Linked DNA regions of Homo sapiens: all the other regions are linked to region 3. The links are contacts of gene promoters, found by promoter capture Hi-C in blood cells and fetal thymus (Javierre and others, 2016). All regions are on one chromosome and are shown on one strand. Each heading gives the region's core, a stretch centred on a gene start or on the middle of the fragment in contact. The rest is flanking DNA. Distances are from core to core; before and after follow the strand shown.

Region 1 (4,486 bases), core at 270-2,769, 600 kb after region 3:
GTCATTGAGAGCTTGTGCATGAATGGGTGAAATGTGCGAATATGGCTCTGGGTTTGGGGTTCTGGAGGGACTTGAGGCATCAAAGACAATCAGGACCATTTGGGGCTTTGAGGTGGATGGATGGGAGAGAGAAGATGGCCTGGGATAGATAAGCATCTGCTTTGGTTTTGCTCAGGGGAAGAGAGGCTTTGAGCCTGCTCTGTTCTCAACAACCTGCTCAGCGGTCAAAGGCCTGTGAGGATGCAGGTCCTGGGTCAACAGGAAGTCACCACGGAGCTGGACAGTCATGGTTGGATCTTATCGGTTAGATTTTCCCTCTTGGGAAGCTTGTTACAAAGTTGATACTGTGAAACAGCCTTAGAAACATTCCATTTGATTTAGCATTTCAATTTTATATGATTTAGTTTTTTTTTCTAATTTAAAGAAAACATCTATCTCAAATAGATGGGTCTCATACAGCAGTTTTTCTGCCTCATTGGCTCCAAGCTGCTTTTGCTTGTACCTCCCCAGCCCTACTGTAAGTGCGAGATCCCCCACCTACGAATGTTATCTTGTTGAAAATTCCCAATAGAAAGATCCTTGGTTATTCTTCTTGCTTAGCAGGGCCTTGAAGGGCGTGTTTTTCCATTAATTCTGAGCCTGGGACGTATGTCTCCTGAACCAGCTGTAGAGAGTGGAAGGGACAAATCCCTTCTCTAGAACTCTGTCCCAAGTTGTTTGGAGGTCACCCTCTCTGGGAGCCTTCTATTTCCCTGGGGACCACTGTGAGCCTGAAGTCATGAGTCTTAGACCTGTGCCCCAAGGGTGTATGTTTGAAACCTCTGGGAACCCAGATCAGAGAGCACTTAGCAGTCTGGAACAGCCCATATGAAGGGGACAGCAGCTTCATTCTCTATTGCACATACAGCTTTTCCCTAAGGGGATCACAGGTTCATCTTCCAAAGGACCCCATGGAAAAAGGTGACCAGCCGGGCTCTTTCAGCAATCAGGAAGCGACTACGTTTAACCTCTTGTTCTGTTGCCAGTGGAAGCGTGAGCAGGACTTTGACCTGCAGTTGCTGGAACGGGTCGTGCAAGGGGAAAAAAAGGACAAGGAGGAGAATGGCTGGTTGAAAGTGCAGGCCATGCCTGTCACTGAGTTGGACCTGGAGCCTCAAGACTATGACTTGGACATCAGCAGAGAGGTGAGGGCAGGCACTTCCTTCATGTCCTCCAGGAGACATGGCCTTCAAGTTCCCAGCCTGATCCACCTTCCCACTGTGGGGTATCATCCTGAACAGGGACATGGCTCAGCTTCAGTGTGGCCTAGGAGGATGGATGGATAGCAGCTTAAGGCAATGAAAGGAGGCCAGATGTTTCGATGAAGGTTCAAAACTCTCTGTAATTTAGGGCAAATTGCAATTTTAGCTTCTCTGTGCTTCAGTTTCCTCAACAGTGAAGTGGGTTGTGAAGAGGATTAAGTAACTGCACATGTTCTTGGGAGGTTTAGCGATCAAAGCCACATAGTAGGCACGTGAGCAGCAGTTGTTATTGTTAGGAAATGTTCCCTGCAACACCAGGGGTTGGCTTTTCAACTGGCTGGTGAGGCCAACTTGGGCAGTCTGACTAGGGGAAAATGGGGGGCAGGTTTGAAAATCACAGGCGAAATTTCCAGCCATGGTAGAAGCTAGGAGACAGTGCAGAGTTCTGGTCTGAATTCTTCTGGTGCCCTCTGGTGGCTCACATGCATCATGACAGGGCAGGCCCAGGAGAGCAAGTAACTCCTGGATCTCTACCCATCAGGAAATGTCTCTACCCAAGGGGAGAGAAAGGGAACTCGGGATGACACACTCAGTGTCTTCAAGACGTAGATTGTCTCCTGTGGCCTATGTCGATGCTATTCCTAAGCTCTTCAGGGCAGCGTCTATGGCTGCTTGGTTCACCTTTGTATCCCTAGTCCCTGGCACAGGGCCTGGCACACAGTGGGTACGTGGTACATCTTTGCTGCATCTTTGACTGTGTTGAATGAATCACACAGTGACCCATAAATGTACCAAAAGCATTTGTACAAGGACTTGGCCTGCCTGGAAACTGCACAAGAGGAAATGTTCTCACCACATGAAGGATGGATCGAGGCGAGACCTCAATAAAACTTTCCCCCAGGTCTGTGTGATAGGAGAGTGAGAACTGAGGAGGACCTGTGTCTTCCAGAGCCTTCCTGCTGTCTTAAGAGGTGGTGCCAGGCCCATTCACAAGCTGATTTGCCAATGGTATCTACCTGACTCAGTATGTTAGGGGTTCCTCTGGTCTTTGGGAACAAAGGAACAGTGTGTGGATAAGATAGATGCCTGTACAGTTGTTGAGTTTTGGGGTCTGCTGGGGCTCTAGGAGTTAACAAGGCTGGTCCCCTGCCCCAAGACCTTGTTCCTTTGCCATCTGAAACAGCCAAAGGTCTGTGCGTTCTCAGATTCACAAAAGAAGCCCCAACATGCTGCCTTGGCAGGGGAAGTGTGTTCTGTAGTGTCCTGATTGCCTGCCAGCCCAGGGAAAAAGTTCTTCCTTATCTCTAACCTAAATTCCTCCTGCTACAATGTAATCTGCTTCCTTCCTCTAAATCTGTCCTCATTGGAGTAACAGAGAAGAGCTTATTTCTTGCCATCTCCAACAGAGTGAAAGGGCTGCGTGTGGGTTTAAATCCATGACCTGATTTGCCCTGGGATTGGATTAAGCTTGTTTTTAGGAGCTTCAACCCACCCCATTTTAGTGTGCTTTTGTAATTCAGGGAGGAAAAAGTTCCTGGAGCATGCAGAAGCTTCCTTTCGTGTTCTTAGTCCAAGCAAGGTTTCACCAAGCCGAGTTTGCCACTAGGTCCACGGGAGATGCTGGTGAGGTGAAATTTGGGGCCATTTTCCTCTGGCCAGCAGTAGATTCAGCATAGCTGCCTCCTGTCTAGATCAGAAGAGCTTTTTTAGGGACAGAAAGCACCATCACATCCTTTCATTCACCCACCTGTCAATCATCCATTTATCCATTATCCATCCATTCAGGGAGAATTAGTTGGAGGGCTACTAAGTACTAAGTCCCTGCATTAGACAGAGGGAGACAATGGTGAATGGAAAGTGAGGGGGTGGAGGGGATCAGAGAAGGATCCTCAAAGTGAGGTTGAAAAGATGAGAGTCAAGGGAACAAAAGGAAGAGCTTCCCAGACAGAACAGAGGCCCCACTGTGGGCGGGGAACTGGAGGGACTGGTTGATCAGTGGCTGGAGAGGTCATCAGGGGTCAGATCACTTAGGGCCTTGACGGTGGCATTAAGGATGATCATTTTTTATCCTGAGAGCTTGTAGTCTAGTTATTTCGCCCTTCCCTTCCCCCAGCCTGTAGGAGGTTGGCTGGTGGAGTGGAAGGAACATGAGCTTTGGAGTCGGACTCAGGTTCAAACCTGGATTCCACAACTGACTAATTTTGTGATCTTAGCAAGTTACTTAGTCTCTGTGGACTCTGCTTGCTTCCCATGGTGGGAGGGGACAGAGGTGGGGAAAGCGAGTCCTAAACCCAGACATCTGAGCCTCTCCCTCTGCCACCTCCTGGCCTCTCCCCAGCTGTCCAAACCAGAGAAGGTGTCAATCCCTGAGCGCTACGTGGAGCTAGATCCCGAAGAGCCACCCAGCCTTGAGGAGCTGCAGGCGCGGTACCGCAAAGCCGAGAAGATCCGCAACATCCTCGCCCGGTCAAGGTCAGCCCTCGCTTGCTCAAGTGTTGGCAGGTCACCCTGACCCCAGGTGGCGTCTCTACCATGTGGGCCCTGGGCCGGGCTGGCTGGGGTGCGTGTTTTGCCAGGTCTTCGTCTCAGGTAAGCCCTACTCATTGGAGGGGGCAGGCTGGTACATCGCCAGCAGATCAGCAAGGGAGCCTGCCTGGGTCATCTGGAAAGACCTGCAACATTCGTAGAGGCTTCTTGTCCTGGGCTGTCACCCCCAATTCTGTGTCCCAAGTGACCCTAGCAAGTGTGGAGAATGGAGCCAAGCGTGGCCGTGAAGTGGACCCCGTTGGAGATCAGCTCCAGTGATGGCCTGCCAGCATTCGGGCCTGTGCACCCTCATGCAGACCAGCGGATCAGAGCCAAGGGTGCCAGCCTTGTCCGTAGGGCACCAGAGGCATTGCCCACTCCCCTGGATGCTGGCCTGGGGTCCTCTGAAGTGACTTTACTGTCCCCTAAGCCTCAATAGCTTCAGAAATTTAATCTTGTTTGTAAGCCTCCCTTTCAGAGCTGGCTTAGCCATCTCATGTCTGAATTTAATAAGAGCCTCCAGCTAGAGCCGTGAACTTAAGGTCTGTGGCCTTCCCAAAGGAGGAACAAAGCTGGGACCGTTTGGGTGTTTGGGGAAAAGCATGTACCTTTGTCTAGGGAGAAAGTACCACAGTTTTTGTCTGATCCCCCTCAAAATGTTGAGAACCTCTAGGCCAGGGAGACCCTCCACTCCTGAGGCTGCTACCCAGGGCAGGAGG
Region 2 (4,571 bases), core at 199-2,698, 650 kb after region 3:
AATTATATAGTACCAGAGTGGTATCTTATATGAGGCCTAGAAACTCAGCAATGTTCTTCTTTCTTGGGTAGTAAAGACAAGGAGAGGAGGCCCTGTCACTGAGAACTTTACATTTTTTTAAATTTTCCCAACATTTAGCATGTAGTGGGCAGTCACAGATGTTTGTCGAGTACGTGCTCTCAACCAGGGATAGTCATGATTGACCATAGTTAAAACTGAAGAGGAAATAAAGGCTTTGAAGATTATGCTGTGTACAAAAAATCTGCTGTTTCACTTGAGACTAAAAAAAAAAATTCCTAGGGCCTTAATTACAGTTACCATTTATTAAATACCCACCATGTACCATATACTTTGCTAGGTGCTTTTTATAGGTGATTTTTACAATTGACCTCAAAGTTTCACAATAATTTGCAAGAAGTAGGGAATTTTATAGGTAATTAAACTTAAGAAAAGTTAAATACTTGCTTAAAATAATGTAGCTAGTGAATGATTCAGTCCTTAAGTCTAATTCCAAAAGCCAGTGCACTTTCCACTGTGCCAATATAACCCAACATTAAATAAGATGCTTCATATATGTCAGGAAGTGTGCCAAGTTTGAGGAAAACCAGAGTGAATAATGCATAATCCTTTACTGCAAAGAGTTTACAGCTTGGCAGGAGAATGATTAAATGGCATCAGTAAATTACAAATAAAATGCTGTAGAACAGTTCATTTTGGCTGAGGGAAATTGGAAAATTATTTCCCAAAAGTTTTTGAGCTAGGCCTTGAAAAAACAGTTTGGGCAGGATGGGGCATATATTCAGTGATGGTTAGTGTCCAGTGTGCTGAAACCTGATAAGCCTAAAAGTATTGTATTCTGAGACAAAATTCTATAGGCTGATCAAAGCCGGGCTGTGAAAAGCCTTGAGTTTAACTCTCTCACTATATGGGTTCAGATTAAGATAATCTCTTCCATAGATCTGTGTGACCTGTTTTCTAATACTTCTCCATTTAAATTCATTTTATGCATTCTAGGCAGATTCAGCCTCTGAAAATGGAATGTAGAGATTCTACTGCTCAAAAACTTCTTGGAGCTCCCCATTTTATACAGAATTAAGTTGATAGAATTAAGCCTATAATTAAAATAAGAATTCAGTTCTTGAGGTCAGAATAAGGTCGATATTCTGATCTCAATAATCCATTCCAGTCTTATTTTCTACTATTATCTTTAACTTATCTTGATTAGCCCACCACAACAAAAATAAGTGCTATAATAAAGGTATTGAACAAAGATACTAGTCTTGTTGACTGTTCTAGACTCTCAGCTGCTTTTGGGTAGGATCTAAGCTTAGCACCATGACATATAAACTATCACTCAATAGATATTTGTTGTTTTAATATATGAATCGGTGAGGTTAGAGAGGAGCAAGTTTATGTGGTAGGATGACTTTGATTTTAGACATGTTAAAGTATTAGTAGGACACCAAGTGGAACTGTTAAAAATATGGGCTTCAAAGTTAGGAGAGAGCAATAAACTTAGAAATCACCCATCTAGAGGTGGTGGGTCAACAAGGAGAGTAACTAAGCTTACCTAGTGAGTGCCTAGAAGAGAGATACTTGGAAAAGAACAAGAAGGAGAAGATTTAAGGATAGAATGAGGAAGAAGAGCCTGAGGTTAGAAGGTAGACATAGAACTAGAAGAAGGAGAGGTTAGTGTCATTGAAGCAAAGGGAAAAAATGTGAAAAATGCATTATTCCACTGTGGTGGACTATGAGATGAAGCCCATTTAGAAGCTGATTTTAAAGGCATAATATAAATGCAACTCTAGGGTCTAACACAGAATCTTGAAAACAAGGTATAAATAAATACATATTTGTGGTTGATGATGGTTGATGATTGGGTAACTCCCATTCTGTCCATTGGGCAGGCAGATTTGTCAGAGTGCTACTGTGATTTAAAATGTGGCACTATAAATATTAACTTGATTATTTTACACATACCTAGGAACTTAAATGAAAAAGGAATGAAAAGGGAAATGAAAAATGTATTGCTTAAAATTGCTTCAATAAAATTGTTGTTGATGTATATCTTCTTTTTTTTTTTTTTTTTTTGAGACAAAGTCTCGCTCTGTCACCCAGGCTAGAGTGCAGTGGCACGATCTTGGGTCACTGCAGGCTCTGCCTTCCAGGTTCATGCCATTCTCCTGCCTCAGCCTCCTGAGTAGCTGGGACTACAGGTGCCTGCCACCATGCCCGGCTAATTTTTTTGTATTTTTAGTAGAGATGGGGTTTCACCGTATTATCCAGGATGGTCTCGCTCTCCTGACCCTGTGATCCACCCGCCTCGGCCTCCCAAAGTGCTGGGATTACAGACGTGAGCCACCGTGCCTGGCCCTTTTTTTTTTTTTTTTTTTTATACTTTAAGTTCTGGGATACATGTGCAGAACATGAAGGTTTGTTACATAGGTATATACGTGCCATGATGGTTTGCTGCACCCATCAACCCATCATCTGCATTAGGTATTTCTCATAATGCTATCCCTCCCCTAGCCCCCCACCCCCAACAGGCCCCGGTATGTGATATTCCCCTCCCTGTGTCCATGTGTTCTCATTGTTCAACTGCCGCTTATGAGTGGGAACATGTCGTGTTTGGTTTTTCTATTCTTGTGATGGTTTGCTGAGACTCATGGTTTCCAGCTTTATCCATGTCCCTGCAAAGGACCTGAACTCATCCTTTTTTATGACTGCATAGTATTCCATGGTGTATATGTGCCACATTTTCTTTATCCAGTCTATCATTGATGGGTATTTGGGTTGGTTCCAAGTCTTTGCTATTGTGAACAGTGCTCCAATAAACATACATGTGCATCTGTCTTTAAAGTACAATGATTTATAATCCTTTGGGTGTATACCCAGTAATGGGATTTCTGGGCCAAATGGCATTTCTTGTTCTAGATCCTTGAGGAATTGTCACACTGTCTTCCACAATGGTTGAACTAATTCACATTCTCACCAACAGTGTAAAAGCGTTCCTATTTCTCCACATTCTATCCAGCATCTGTTGTTTCTTGACTTTTTAATGATTGCCCTTCTAACTGGTGTGAGATGATTGTAGTTTTGATTTGCATTTCTCTAATGACTAGTGATGGTGAGCTTTTTCTCATGTTTGTTGGCTGCATAAGTGTCTTCTTTTGAGAAGTGTCTGTTCATATCCTTCACCCACTTTTTGATGGGGTTGTTTTTTTCTTGTAAATTTGTTTTAAGTTCTGTGCAGATTCTGGATATTAGCACTTTGTCAGATGGATAGATTGCAAAAATTTTTCTCCCATTCTGTAGGTTGCCTGTTCACTGCAATGATAGTTTCTTTTGCTGTGCAGAAGCTCTTTAGTTTAATTAGATCCTATTTGTCAGTTTTGGCTTTTGTTGCCATTGTTTTTGGTGTTTTAGTCATTAAGTCTTTGCCTGTGCTTATGTTCTGTATGGTATTGCCTAGGTTTTCATCTAGGGTTTTTATGGTTTTAGGTCTTACATGTAAGTCTTTAATCCACCTTGAGTTAATTTTTGTATAAAGTGTAAGGAAGGGGTCCAGTTTCAGTTTTCTGCATGTGGCTAGCCAGTTTTCCCAAAGCCATTTAGTAAATAAGGAATCCTTTCCCCGTTGCTTGTTTGTGTCAGGTTCGTCAAAGATCAGATAGTTGTAGATGTGTGATATTATTTCAGAAGCCTCTGTTCTGTTCTGTTGGTCTATATGTCTGTTTTGGTACCAGTACCATGCTGTTTTGGTTACTGTAGCCTTGTAGCTTAGTTTGAAGTGAGGTATTGTGATGCCTCCAGCTTTGTTCTTTTTGCTTAGGATTGTCTGGGGTATATGGGCTCTTTTTTGTTTCCATATGAAACGAAGTAGTTTTTTCTAATTTGTGAAGAAAGTCAATGGTAGCTTGATGGGGATAGCATTGAATCTATAAATTAACTTGGGCAGTGTGGCCATTTTCACAATATTGATTCTGCCTATTCATAAGCATGGAATGTTTTTCCATTTATTTGTGTCCTCTCTTATTTCCTTGAGCAGTGGTTTGTAGTTCTCCTTGAAGAGGTCCTTCACATCAATTCTAAGTTGTATTCCTGGGTATTTTATTCTCTTTGTAGCAATTGTGGATGGGAGTTCACTCATGATTTGGCTCTCTGTCTATTATTGGTGTATAGGAATGCTTGTGATTTTTGTACATTGAGTTTGTGTTCTGAGACTTTGCTGAAGTTGCTTATCAGCTTAAGGAGATTTTGGGCTGAGATGTTGGTGTTTTCAAAATATGCAATCATGTTGTCTGCAAACAGAGACAATCTGACTTCCTCATTTCCTAATTGAATACCCTTTATTTCTTTCTCTTGCCTGATTGCCCTGGCCAGAACTTCCAATACTATGTTGAATAGGAGTGGTGAGAGAGGGTATCCTTGTCTTGTGCATTTCAAAGGAAATGCTTCCGGTTTTTGCCCATTCAGTATGATACTGGCTGTGGGTTTGTCATAAATAGCTCTTATTATTTTGAGATACATTCCATCAATATCTAATTTATTGAGAGTTTTTAGTATGAAAG
Region 3 (4,501 bases), core at 2,002-4,501:
GCTAGGCCTGGATCATGTCTCCATCTCCATCCCTCAAGCAGGGGCATTCAGAAGTGGAAAGGTGGTCCTTCAGAGGGAAAGCACAGTGCATGAGTCACAGGTCAGCCAGGTGGTGTCTGGGAGACGCTGGAGCCCAGACACCAGGGAGACTAAAACAGCAGCTGTCCTGACTTCCTCTGCATCACGAAACAAGAGTGCACACCTGCCCTTGGCCAAGAAATGGCAGGTGCTCATTTACATCTCATTTTATGATCATTTGCATATCATCTGCAGTACTGGCTGCACCAAGCCCTGAGGTGCAGACCTAAGAGTCTTGAACCTGCATCCTCTTGGCTGCAAGGGGATCATAGAGGCACAACATAAGAAAAGCCCACCAGTTATCGGAGGCAGGTCCAGTGCAGACCCCTGTGGATGTTCCAGGAGCCAGAGAAGCTCGGAAAGGAAGAGCTCTGTAAAGCCTGGCAGCCTGCCTGGAAAAGACAAAATTTGAGTTAAATATTGTGGGGGATAGGGATTGGTTAGGCAGAAAGTCAGAGAAAGGGTTGGGGTGGCAGGTAGGGACAGCAGGAGCTAAGGAGTGATGGTGGAAGTGTGTTAAGAGTGTTGGTTGATCAGGGAGGTGGGAGAGAGATTACAGCAGTGGGGAGGGCATCATATCAGAGAGCCCTGAATGCCAGAGCAAGGAGTGTGGGCTATGCCCATGGACAAAAAGGGAGAAGGGTTTTGAGCAAGAAAGCGACTTGACAAGTTCAGTATTTGGTGGAGATGACTATAAGCAAGTGCAGGATGGAGCAAAAGGGGAGGCTGAGCCTTTCAGGTGGGAGACTCAGCCTCTCAGAAGGGTGAGCAGCAGGGAGGGAGGTAAGGCCTCAAGGCTGCACCAGGAGGCAGAACCCAGCCTTTCCAGCTCTGAGATTTCCCCAGGGGCCCAGCAGCTTCCTCCACTGTGAGATCTCCCAAGAGCAGAGCCGGGGAACTGAAAGAGGACTCCACAAGCCTACCACTGCTCCAAAGCCACCCCACCTCAACAGATTGAAGGGAAGTAGCAGGGGCAGGGCTGGGCCCACAGTGAGGTGTTGCAGGGATGCCCAAGGTCATCCTGGCCCAAAATCCCTGTATAACATCCCTCATGGCCCACCGACTTGATTTGGGTACCCCACAGATGTGGCTCATCTCTGGTTATTGTTATTAGAACTGACTCTTGCATATGTGAAACCAAAGCCTGCCTCTGTTCCACTTAGTGTCCTGGTTCTACCCTTTGGGCCACAAAAAACTACTAGTTCATCCTCCTTCAAGGCCAGGTGTTTCTGCAATAGTGCCCAAATCCCTGGGGGACTTTCCTTTTCTGATGGCTGGACAGTTGTAGTTGCCTCAGAGATTTCCCCATGTAACCCTGTCTCCTTGAGCTTCCCACTCTGCTCATCTCATTTTACCCTCCCCTTCCTAGACACTGCATCTTTGTTAATATAGCCCATGATCACACCCATCCTTTGTAGCGGTGTTCGCTCTGCCTGCAGGTGGGTAGGGAGAGAAAGGAAAATCCAATATAAAATGCATATCTTGCCCCCACTGTGGCCCACAGCCACACTGCCTTTTCCAGACCCTGTCTCAAGCCCCCACTCCAACAAAATGGCCGCAGATGGTCAGGGGTTCTTCCATAAGGATCTGAGCCACAGACAGCGGTAAAGCCGTTACTGTTCCAACAACAGAGATCTAGCAGGCTTTCCCTCCCAGCTGAGAACCCGGGTCCATGCCACAGGGCAGCCTCAGGCTGATGCCTGAACAGAAACACCACCATGCCGGGACCAAGAGCCTGGGTCCCCCAGTGCCCGAGGCAGCCCTAACACACTGTTCAGGCCTAAATACCACCCATGACCTAACGTGGAAGAAGTCAGGTGACAGGTGTGAGAAAGTGTAAAGCAAGTGGCCTCGGCTCAAACCTTCTTTAAAGTAGGGCCGGAATGGCTGAGAAGATGGAGCCGCCCAGGCTGCCCCACAGCAGTAGCAGGTGTTAAACTGTGCTCCTTTCCTGCCGAGGCCTTTTTTTTTTTTTTTTTTTTTTTTTTTTTTAATGAGAGGGAGTCTGAGCTTCCATCAGATTGTCAAAGGATTCAAGACTAAGATTAAGAGCATCCCCCAAAGAGAAGCAGCTGCAGGTTGAGAAGTCCTCGGACCGCCTAATTTCCGCCAGCCCTGGGATTGGTGGCGCCGCCTCTCAGCGCCTCCTTTCCCGGGGAACCTGCAAACCTGGCGCGGCCGAGAGGCGGATTACTGACCCAAATACGGATGGGGATATTGGGGGAGGGGAGCCAGGGCGACAGGGCGGCGGCCCCAGACTGGGAGGGCGGGTCACAGATCCCTCCCAGCCCCCCACTTTCGTAGAGCGTGGGCAGGAGGAACCTCTGGGTTCCGCGGATCAGAAAAACTCCAAAGGCCGGGTTGTGAGTCCCGGGAGGGGAGGTGGAGGGCGGGGGCGGGGAGGGGCGCGGGAGGGGCGGGGGCTTGCTCCGGCCCCGCCCCCTGCGCTCCGGTGCAGGTCGGGCTCCCCCTGGCGGTCCCCGGCCCCGTTCCTCTCCTCGTGCGCCCCCCTCCCGCCGTCCTAGACCCCTGCCTAGCCCAGGTCGGTCTCCGCGGACCCACGGACGGACAGACAGACGGGAGGACGGCCAGCCGCGAGCGCCCGGGCGGCGGGAGGGGGCGGGGAGGCGACGGCCGTGGCGTGAGGAGCAGGAGCAGGTGCAGCGGCGGCGGCGGGCGGGGCCGGGACCCGGCGCGGAGCGGGAGCCGCGGCGCGGGCGGGCGGCAGGGACCGGGAGGCCGCGACTCGGAGTCAGCCCCGCCGGGTCGCGCGCAGGTCCGGGGAGCCGCGGTTGAGCCGGGTGGGGTGGTGACTCCAGAGAACGCAGGATCCCAAGGAGACAGAGAGGACGAGAGCTGGAGGGGGATCCGGAAAGCGGCGGGGGCGCTCCGGGAGGGGTGGAGTAGGACATAGGGGGCGCACCTGGAGGAGAGACGGGGCGGGGGTGGCCAGGACCTGAGCTGGAGCCTGGGAGCCCGAAGGCCAGACAGGTGAGGCGGGAGACCCGGAGGTGGGGGTGAGGTCCGGTTAGTGGGAGAGATCCGGAGGTGTTAAGTTCTGAGCTGGGCTGGGAAGGCAGGCTGGGCGGGGAGAAGGGCTCTTAGCGGGAGGCCCAGGGGTGGTCAGCTGGTGGGGGAAGCTGGGGGAGGACGCAGGGCCAGGTGGAGAGCCGGCAGGGTTGGGGGCTCCCTAGGCGCCAGGCAGGTGGGCTCAAGGGTGAGGCTGTTTTTTTTGTTTTGTTTTTTGTTTTTGAGACGGAGTCTCGCTCTGTCGCCCAGGCTGGAGTGCAGTGGCGTGATCTTGGCTCACTGCAACCTCCGCCTCTCGGGTTCAAGCGATTCTCCTGCCTCAGCTTCCTGAGTAGCTGGGATTACAGGTGCGCACCACCATGCCCGGCTAACTTTTGTATTTTTAGTAGAGATGGGGTTTCACCATGTTGGTCAGGCTGGTCTCGAACTCCTGACCTAGTGATCTGCCCTCCTCAGCCTCCCAACGTACTGGGATTACAGGCGTGAGCCACCGCGCCCGGCCTGAGGCTGGTATTAAGAAGTGAAGTGGGACCCAGGTGGAGGTAAGGAAGAGTCTGGTGGGGAGTTATCTCAGAAGTGAGGCCAGCACAGGCTGAGTGCAGCCCCAGGGTGAGAAGGTGCCCACCGAGAGGACTCTGCAGTGAGGCCCTAGGCCACGTCCGAGGGGTGCCTCCGATGGGGGAAGCCCCTCCCTGGGGGTCACCGGAGCCATGCTGTCCCGCAAGGGCATCATCCCCGAGGAATACGTGCTGACACGCCTGGCAGAGGACCCTGCCAAGCCCAGGTACCGTGCCCGCCAGCGGAGGGCCCGCTTTGTGTCCAAGAAAGGCAACTGCAACGTGGCCCACAAGAACATCCGGGAGCAGGGCCGCTTCCTGCAGGACGTGTTCACCACGCTGGTGGACCTCAAGTGGCCACACACATTGCTCATCTTCACCATGTCCTTCCTGTGCAGCTGGCTGCTCTTCGCCATGGCCTGGTGGCTCATCGCCTTCGCCCACGGTGACCTGGCCCCCAGCGAGGGCACTGCTGAGCCCTGTGTCACCAGCATCCACTCCTTCTCGTCTGCCTTCCTTTTCTCCATTGAGGTCCAAGTGACTATTGGCTTTGGGGGGCGCATGGTGACTGAGGAGTGCCCACTGGCCATCCTGATCCTCATCGTGCAGAACATCGTGGGGCTCATGATCAACGCCATCATGCTTGGCTGCATCTTCATGAAGACTGCCCAAGCCCACCGCAGGGCTGAGACCCTCATCTTCAGCAAGCATGCGGTGATCGCCCTGCGCCACGGCCGCCTCTGCTTCATGCTACGTGTGGGTGACCTCCGCAAGAGCATGATCATCAGCGCCACCATCCACATGCAGGTGGTACGCAAGACCACCAGCCCCGAGGG

The links. Contacts are between HindIII fragments. The CHiCAGO score rates a contact against its expected background, and 5 or more counts as called.
Region 1: a contact is called between a fragment that was not itself captured here and the fragment with the promoter of KCNJ11 in region 3, in 1 of 17 cell types (naive CD4 T cells). The highest score is 5.5, in naive CD4 T cells.
Region 2: a fragment that was not itself captured here is called in contact with the fragment with the promoter of KCNJ11 in region 3 in 2 of 17 cell types (activated CD4 T cells and naive CD8 T cells); the score reaches 6.5 in activated CD4 T cells.

What each region holds. Positions count from the first base shown.
Region 1 is chr11:16,782,927-16,787,412 of GRCh38, reverse strand. PLEKHA7 (pleckstrin homology domain containing A7) reads left to right here. Exons shown (of 27, transcript NM_001329630.2): 24 at 1,026-1,184; 25 at 3,580-3,713. Among named protein-coding and RNA genes, the nearest start is that of C11orf58, 47 kb to the right of the region's middle. RefSeq lists an enhancer at 4,135-4,486. The HindIII fragment of the contact is 2,382 bases long and covers 329-2,710 here.
Region 2 is chr11:16,731,547-16,736,117 of GRCh38, reverse strand. It overlaps a transcript of SOX6 not described here. Among named protein-coding and RNA genes, the nearest start is that of C11orf58, 4.8 kb to the left of the region's middle. The HindIII fragment of the contact is 239 bases long and covers 1,329-1,567 here.
Region 3 is chr11:17,387,409-17,391,909 of GRCh38, reverse strand. It overlaps KCNJ11 (potassium inwardly rectifying channel subfamily J member 11), which reads left to right and starts at 3,251. Exons shown (of 1, transcript NM_000525.4): 1 at 3,251-4,501. The coding sequence starts at 3,819. RefSeq lists silencers at 2,171-2,270, 2,351-2,860 and an enhancer at 4,069-4,501. The HindIII fragment of the contact is 14,360 bases long and covers 1-4,501 here.